Regions from separate parts of the Homo sapiens genome. Here region 1 is linked to region 2. The links are contacts of gene promoters, found by promoter capture Hi-C in human tissues and cell types (Jung and others, 2019). All regions are on one chromosome and are shown on one strand. Each heading gives the region's core, a stretch centred on a gene start or on the middle of the fragment in contact. The rest is flanking DNA. Distances are from core to core; before and after follow the strand shown. Region 1 overlaps ABCG1 (ATP binding cassette subfamily G member 1). Region 2 holds the start of TFF1 (trefoil factor 1).

The links. The method cuts DNA at HindIII sites, captures the fragments that hold promoters and counts their contacts. A contact is called where the count stands out against the background at its distance.
Region 1: a fragment that was not itself captured here is called in contact with the fragment with the promoter of TFF1 in region 2 in 2 of the 25 tissues and cell types used here (IMR-90 fibroblasts and lymphoblastoid cells).

What each region holds. Positions count from the first base shown.
Region 1 is chr21:42,266,685-42,270,719 of GRCh38, forward strand. All of the region lies in intron 2 of ABCG1 (ATP binding cassette subfamily G member 1), which reads left to right. Among named protein-coding and RNA genes, the nearest start is that of TFF3, 47 kb to the right of the region's middle. The HindIII fragment of the contact is 6,788 bases long and covers 1-4,035 here.
Region 2 is chr21:42,363,878-42,368,043 of GRCh38, forward strand. It overlaps TFF1 (trefoil factor 1), which reads right to left and starts at 2,658. Exons shown (of 3, transcript NM_003225.3): 1 at 2,534-2,658. The coding sequence starts at 2,618. It overlaps LOC105372815 (a long non-coding RNA gene), which reads left to right. Exons shown (of 3, transcript XR_937755.3): 3 at 1-1,235. RefSeq lists a silencer at 2,980-3,079 and an enhancer at 3,706-4,166. The HindIII fragment of the contact is 32,159 bases long and covers 1-4,166 here.

The sequences.
Region 1 (4,035 bases), core at 1,039-3,538, 98 kb before region 2:
TAAGCTCCCATATTTTGTGTTAAGGAGCAAGGATTTTCACAGGCTCATAGAGCATTTGCTTCCTTTCTAGGGTAATTAAGACTACACTAGAAACCATCTTGTCCGGTTCTCTTTTACAGATGTTGACATTAGGGCCCCAAGAAGATACGTAGCCTGCTGGTGTCACTTAGGGAATTAATTCCTGAGCAGGTGTCTGGTGCCTGGGGCCCTGCTCAGACCCCATTCTCTCCTCTGGTTCTCGATGGCCCTCACCTCCCATTTCTTTCCATTTCCCAGAGGAGTCTGGTTGAACTTATGGCTTTTTTTGCCTTGATTAATTGACTATGAATTTATGTCCCCTAAAAAAGGATTAAGTTGCATCATTTCTTCTTAGCATGCAGTGCTCAGAGACAACCCAGCAATTGATAAAGACTTTAGGGTTGGTGCAGGGAAAGGGGGAAACAGACACTGATTAAAGATAAATGGGGAGTGGAGCCTTCCTCCCACCCAGGCTCACAGAGGCCGGCCCTGCCCGCCTAGCGCTCTCGCGGGTTCTGGTCTGCAGTTTTTATCTGAGTTCCGTTTAGTGTCTGGTCTGAGGCTCTGGTCTGGTTTGGGTTCTGTCTGGGTTCTGTCTAGGTCTAATCTGGGTTCTCTCTAGACCTGGTCTGGGTGTGGTCTGGGTTCTGTCTGGGTCTGGTTTGGGTTCTGTCTGGGTCTGATCTGGGTCTGGTCTAGGTTCTTTCTGGGTCTGATCTGGGTTCTGTCTGGGTGTGGTCCGAGTTCTGTCTGGGTCTGGTCTGGGTTCTGTCTGGGTCTGATCTGGGTTCTGTCTGGGTGTGGTCTGAGTTCTGTCTGGGTCTGGTCTGGGTTCTGTCTGGGTCTGCTCTGGGTTCTGTCTGGGTGTGGTCTGGGTTCTTTCTGGGTCTGATCTGGGTTCTGTCTGGGTGTGGTCTGGGTTCTGTCTGGGTGTGGTCTGGGTTCTGTCTGGGTCTGGTCTGAGTTCTGTCTGGGTCTGGTCTGGGTTCTGTCTGGGTCTGGTCTGAGTTCTATCTGGGTCTGGTCTGGGTTCTGTCTCGGTGTGGTCTGGGTTCTGCCTGGGTGTGGTCTGGGTTCTGTCTGGGTCTGGTCTGGGTTCTGTCTGGGTGTGGTCTGGGTTCTGTCTGGGTCTGGTCTGGGTTCTGTCTGGGTCTGATCTGGGTCTGGTCTGGGTTCTGTCTGGGTGTGGTCTGGGTTCTGTCTGGGTGTGGTCTGGGTTCTGTCTGGGTGTGGTCTGGGTTCTGTCTAAGTTCTGGTCTGGCTGTTCTAGTCTGCGGCTCTGGTCTGGCCTGGGTTGTGTCTAAGCTCTGGTCTGGGCTACCATCTGGCTGTTTCAAATACTGAACCTGGGCATCCTGCACGGGGCTGATGGGCCTTCACTGGGCCTGGCTCTGGCAGTCTCTGCACTTGTTATCCTGGGCACTCACTATCCCAGCCAGAAAAACAGTGGAAGACAGTGTGCCCTGTGAACGAGAGCCCACAAGGACAGGGAGGCAGGTGCATGTCCATTATGCCAAGAAGTGGGCTGAGCAGAGCTCAGGGGTGGGAAAGTAGGGCAGGCGGGGTGGGATGGTCGCATCTTCGCTTTATATTTCTGTAATGGGAACCAAGTGGAGGACTCTGCGGGGAGGGTGATTTCCTTACATAAATAGAGGTAGGGGTGTGTGTGTGTGTGTGTGTGTGTGTGCGCGCGCGCGCTGGATACTCAGGAAACCCGACTACCACAGGAAGCCTCTGGCTGGTGTTTCCTGGGCCCCTCAGCCCAGGACTCACTTTTAGATGTGCACAAGGTCACTGTTGTACCCGGGCTGTCCCACAGCAGGGCAGACTAATGTTTACTGGACTTTGTTTCCAGAGCCACTTTTAAGATTCTTCAATTCCAAATGCATGTCTTTTTTTAAAAAAAAGAAAGAAAGAAAAATAAGTTTCTAATATTAGAGAAGTACAGCCCTGAATTGGGTTTTGTGTCCACTGCTGGACCCCATGAGGGCCAGGTGGAGTGGACCTCTGCAGCCCCAGTTGTGTGCACTCTCTGTTTGGTGCAAATTCCAGTTTGCTGGTTCTCAATAGCAAGACCAGCCTGAGACCACCTGTCCTGCTCTTCCCATGAGAGGGCCGAATGCTCCCAGCCTCCATGCCATGTCCTGTTCCTGGGGTCCTGGGGGTCATTGCAGCCTGTATGTGCTTCCTCCAGCCAGGGTGATCATCGGGTGCCCCAGTGAGCCCCAGCACTGAGGGTCAGCCCCAGGCACTGTCAAAGGTGAGAGCTCAGAGGCTGTGCCCAGAAAGAGAGGTGGGCCCTGCCTGCCCTGGACGGAGGGAGAGAGGCTTCTCAGAGCCCGAGGCATGAACCCTCAGGTGGGTCGTGGCCATAGTCAGATGATGGCTGCTGGTGAGCTCAGTGACCAGGCGTCTTCAGGCAGCTCATAAGTTTGAGAGGACACAGCCTAAGGGAGGTTTGCTGGGGAGTAGCCCCACTTCCACCCTGAATAGACAAGAGATGGTAAAGCAGGTACCCAGCACTTAGTGCTTTCTTGGGGATATCGCGTGGGTCCCCGGGGGCCTGGGTGCCCGAAGTGCCGCAGTACTCCATGGTGCAGAGAGCTTGCTCCTGTGGAGGAAGTGTCTATGTGGTCCCCAGCTCCTCTGTCTGCCTGTCCACTGAGGGGCACCCATGGCTCAGCAGAAGGGCTATTCTTGGGGTTCCCGGTCCTCCTCCAGCCCCGCTAATCTGTGTAGGCCTCAAGTGCTGTGTGTTTGTAAGCATTGTCATCCACAGTCCTATTGTACGAGCTGGTTCACCCGCAGCTCTGAGCTGCTCTCCAGCCCCAGCCCTTTCTTCCTGTGCCCCTACCCCCGCTGGGATGACTCTCCTCACCCTCCCTGGGGCGACAACCGCCCTGTCTGTAATGAGTGGCAGTCCCAAGCTTCCTGACTGGCTTCCGCAGCTCTCTGACTCCCCTAAACAAGGCCTCAGGGACTCCACATCCAAATTAAGGCGGCACCTGGTGGCAGGTTGGCATTTTCCGGTGTCCTATCTATGAAAGACAGGAAGACAGCTGGGAGCAAACTCCCCTGGGCCAGACTCTTGGAAACATAAAGGCTTGGGTGCCCAGCTGGGGACCGGGAGAAAGTCTAAAACACGGGACTGGGCCAAGGACCCCACAGGTCCCTGTCTCATTAGGTCCCCTGAAACGTGTGGAAGCTAAAATGGCATTCACGTGATTCTTGATCATTTAACAGTGGATTCTGATCTGATACTACACTGAGAAGTGCCCCTGGGCCGGGCGCGGTGGCTCACGCCTGTAATCCCAGCACTTTGGGAGGCCGAGGCGGGCGGATCACAAGGAGATTGAGACCATCCTGGCTAACACGGTGAAACCCTGTCTCTACTAAAAATACAAAAAATTAGCCAGGCATGGTGGCAGGCGCCTCTAGTACTAGCTACTCGGGAGGCTGAGGCAGGAGAATGGTGTGAACCCGGGAGGCGGAACTTGCAGTGAGCCAAGATTGTGCCACTGCACTCTAGCATGGGCGACAGAGCAAGACTCAGTCTCAAAAAAAAAAAAAAAAAAAAAAGTGCCCCTGGATTGGGAGACATTATCTATGCATCCAGTTGCTTCTGTTTTATTATTTACAGCACTTTTAAACAGTCTATTTGAAAAAAAATTAATGTGGCTTTGCTTGGGATGTGCAGCTTTTCCCCTTTTATAAAGCTCTCAGATGGAGACTTGGCAGAAATTCCAAAGCAGTTTGGTGTGGCTCCAAAATGACAAACTTTCTTAATTATTAATTAAGGGATTAATAATATATTGATTATTTAATCATATGTTGATTATTTATAAATAAATCATATATACATAATTTATACTTATGTAAATATATAAAGCATAAATAAATAATTTGTAGATGCAGTAAGTGAATTATTAATTAAAACAGACACATGCATGGCATCTCGGGGCAGGAGCAAGCTGGTAGTGCTGCAGCTCAGAGCTGGGTTCTGCCCATACTGGCCGA
Region 2 (4,166 bases), core at 1,408-3,907:
GGTGAATCACTTGAGGTCAGGAGTTCAAGACCAGCCTGACCAAAATGGTGAAGCCCCATCTCTACTAAAAATACAAAAAATTAGGCGGGCATTGTGGCACACGTCTGTAATCCCAGCTACTTGGGAGGCTGAGGCAGGAGAATCACTTGAACCCAGGAGGCAGAGGTTGTAGTGAGCCAAGATCGCACCATTGCACTCCAGCCTGAGTGACAGAGCAAGACTCCATCTCAAAAAAAAAAAAAAAAGAGTCTAAGGATCTGATGGAGGAGAAAGGCAAGAACATGTGCGAGACAACGCAAGGCCATCGTCCCAGGGTGCCCAGGGTAACCACGGGGGTAGGGCACTCCCCGGAGAGGCCAATGACAAGCAGGTTGAACAAAGCAGGGGGGCTCCCTGCAGGAGGAGGTTCACCAGGTGAAGATGGAGCCGCATGGGCAAAGGCCATTCCAGAGACCCAGGTGTGTTCAGGAGGTGGAAACCCATTGCAGGTAAGGTGAGAGGACCGGGTGGGGTGGTCTAGGAGGAGCCGACAGAGGGTACAAGCTGTGAAACAGCTTGAAGCAGGGCAGTGAGGAAAGGGATCTAGAGGAGGAAGACACGTGGACAGATGGGGCTGGCTGGGGGCTGCCGCAGGATCTTATGCAAGAGGTTCTAACACCAGAGCTTCAGGCTCTGAGCTCCGCGGAATCAAAGGTCTCAGAAAGCAACCTATTAGGATCTGGTGGTTGACAGCCTGCAGCAGGGGGTGAAAGAGGAGCCCAGAGCACCCTCCGGTCCCTGTCCCTGCCTTGGGGCATAGGAGGGGAGGAACTCAGTCTGGCCACACTGGCTCAGGTGAGGGCGCCCCAGGGGAGGCCGAGAGGGGCTGTTCTCTTGTCTGCTTTGCTATCAGGGACTGCCTCGAGATGTCTTTGGAGAAAGTGTTCCTGGCTTGCTGGGAAGGATCCGTGTTCAGCTCCCGCTGCCCAGCAGCTTCCATGGGAACCTTGCCCTCCTGGGGTCTGGATCCATCGCGACGTGAAGGTGATCATCGCCCACCCCCGGGACACTGTGGGGGTCAAGAGAGGCCCCGTGGTGAGGGAGGATCATCATCCTGGGGGTCGGGGGGGTTTCCTCCTCAGGGAGGAAGATTTCCAGCCCCGGTGCTCTGCCTCCGGCAGACTCTGTCTTGCCCACCCGCTTTGTCTTTGTCGCATGATGGAAATAAATGGAAATGGTTTCCACACACGAATGCACTAAACTGTAATCACAATTTTCTAGATTTCAGTTGTAACAGGATCATGGACCTGAGTGACCCGCAAAGACGCTCTGAGCCTTGAGCCAGAGGGTGTGTGGGGTGGGGAGGGGAGTTTGCCACGGCCTCTGTGATCCCACAGCACAGGGGGCAGAGCTGGGGGCTGGGGTGGGGGCAAGGGCGCAGGCAGATGGGCCTGGGGGTGGCCAGCACGGGGACCCACCCAGTTCGTTCTGTACACCGAGGCCACTTCCTCTCTCGGGTTCCAAAGCTCCCCCGCTCCCTGCCATGGGCTTGGGGGTCTTCCCACTGCAGCCCAATGCTGGCTGCTCTTCTACGCTGCCCAAGCCCACCCCTCAGGCCCGGTACCCCACAGCAGAGATCAAGAGGTGGCTGGAGGGCAGTGGGGGCACGGACAGCACCACTGGGCGCTCCCTCTTCAGGCCTCTCTGGAAACCCTTGCTTTGGAAACGTAGAAAGCCCTTTCTCCTGCCCCCACCTTGAAACTGTACCTAATAACGGCAAATAAGTTATTCAGCTCCCCACAGCTGGCAAAGTGCAAGTCGCAGATGCTGCCACACAGCATTTCCTGACAGCCCTAGGGCAGACCGTTGATCCATTCTGCAGGTAAAGGAGTTGAGATGCAAACACTTCCCAAGGAAGCAAGAATGGCCTCCTCCTCCACTCCCTAGAAGGACCCAGGGCAACCGATCCACTTGACAACACCAGGGAATATGGGTTGCCAGCCACGCACTCATGAGAGAGGTGGCTTTGACTCCCAGAGCATGGATCCCAGGGGAGCCCAGGAACCTGTAGGAGAGGGTCTCCCAGTTGGCCACCACTGGGACGGGCATTCGGGCCTGTGGGAGAGGGTCTCCCAGGTGGCCATCACTGGGACCGGCATTTGGGCCTATCTGGATGGGCCTTGGGAGGGTCTGCCCCTGGGGGAGATGTTGGCATGAACAGTCAAAAGCACTATTCTGAGACCCCACGCCAACACTTCCTCTTTGAAACATGACACTTGGGAGGATTGTATAGTCTTCCTAACACAGGAAAACAGCCCCGACTGAAGGCAGCCCCCTCCTCGTCGCACTTCTCGAAGGTCTCCGGGGGCCCTGCCACCCTGAGTTACTCTCCACCTGCTTTTGCCGATCCTGTAAATTGGATATACTTTTAAGGGCCTAGAACAGCACCTGGCACAAAACAGGTGCTCAAAAATATGTATGTAAAACAGTGGCTCCTGGCGGAGGCTGCCAGAGCTGGCTGTGGCCCCACAGAGCAGGAAGAAGCACGCCTTACCTGTCTGGGCCTCGGCCAGGGTGCCGAGGGCCAGCATGGACACCAGGACCAGGGCGCAGATCACCTTGTTCTCCATGGTGGCCATTGCCTCCTCTCTGCTCCAAAGGCGACCCCGAGTCAGGGATGAGAGGCCGCCCGAGCCCCGGATTTTATAGGGCAGGCTCTGTTTGCTTAAAGAGCGTTAGATAACATTTGCCTAAGGAGGCCCGGGGATCCTCTGAGACAATAATCTCCACTGATTTTTATCAAAGGTGTTTCCTAGACATGGTCAAGCTACATGGAAGGATTTGCTGATAGACAGAGACGACATGTGGTGAGGTCATCTTGGCTGAGGGATCTGAGATTCAGAAAGTCCCTCTTTCCCATGGGAGTCTCCTCCAACCTGACCTTAATCCAGGTCCTACTCATATCTGAGAGGCCCTCCCGCCAGGGTAAATACTGTACTCACTGCAGAAGTGATTCATAGTGAGAGATGGCCGGAAAAAGGCTTGGCCGTGACAACAGTGGCTCACGGGGTGGCCACCGTGACCTTGCAGGGGGAAGGGAAGGAGCTCATGAAGCCCATTCCGTCTAGGCCTAAGCTAATTCTTTTACAGTGGAATTGTTTTAATAATGAAATTGTAGGCCTGGCGCAGTGGCTCACGCCTGTAATCCCAACACTTTGGGAGGCCAAAGCAGGCGGATCACTTAAAGTCAGGAGTTTGAGACTAGCCTGGCCAACATGGCGAAACCCCGTCTCTACAAAAAAAAAAAATACAAAAATTAGCCAGGCATGGTGGCGGGTGCCTGTAATCCTAGCTACTCTGGAGGTTAAGTCAGGAGAATCACTTGAACCTGGGAGGCGGAGGTTGCAGTGAGTCGAGATCACCCTACTGCACTCCAGCCTGAGCGACAGATTAAGTCTCCTTCTGGGAGGGGCTGGGGGCAGGAGGGAGAAAAAAATAGTATATACGAGCTGCCATCAAAAACTGACAAAGTGAACGTGGTTCACTCCCCTGTGTCTATGGGGCTCCCTCCCTCCCCCTCCCACACCTTCCCAGTTGGTCCCCTGGACTCCTGTATTTTAGAGGACAGCCTCCTGCTCTCCTGTACCATGCCTCACTCCCCTCCCCTGCTCGGAGCTTTCTCTTTCATAGCTCTTATTACCTCCTGGTGGATAAAACAAGTGACTGACACATTATGTTGGTTATTTATTCATTGCACTCCTCCCTGCAGCAGACGGGAGGGCGCATGGGAGCAGAAGTCCTCATCTCCTAGTGCCTTGAGGTGGCCCCAGACCCTAGAACAGTGGCTTTGATTGGCATTCGAGAAACAGCTGTTGAAGAGCTGCATGAAGAAATGGACAACAGGAGAAATCTTTTCTTCTTCAGTGAGAAATTAGGCCCTGAGGAAAATGCATGCTAGCCTAACAAAGGTACTATCTTTTCTTGGGTGACCTAGTCAGTACATTTCTGCAGCCCCTCTGGGAGGGGAGCCTGGGCCAGAATGGGGGCGGCCATGTTCCTCTTCGCTCCATCCCAGGACCCAGCCCCTCCTCCAGGGCTGCCACTCCTGCACCGGGGTCTCCACTCCTGGGCCAGGGTCTCCAGGAGGGGCCTGACCGCAGGACCCAGGGAGGGGCCGAGGCCTGGTG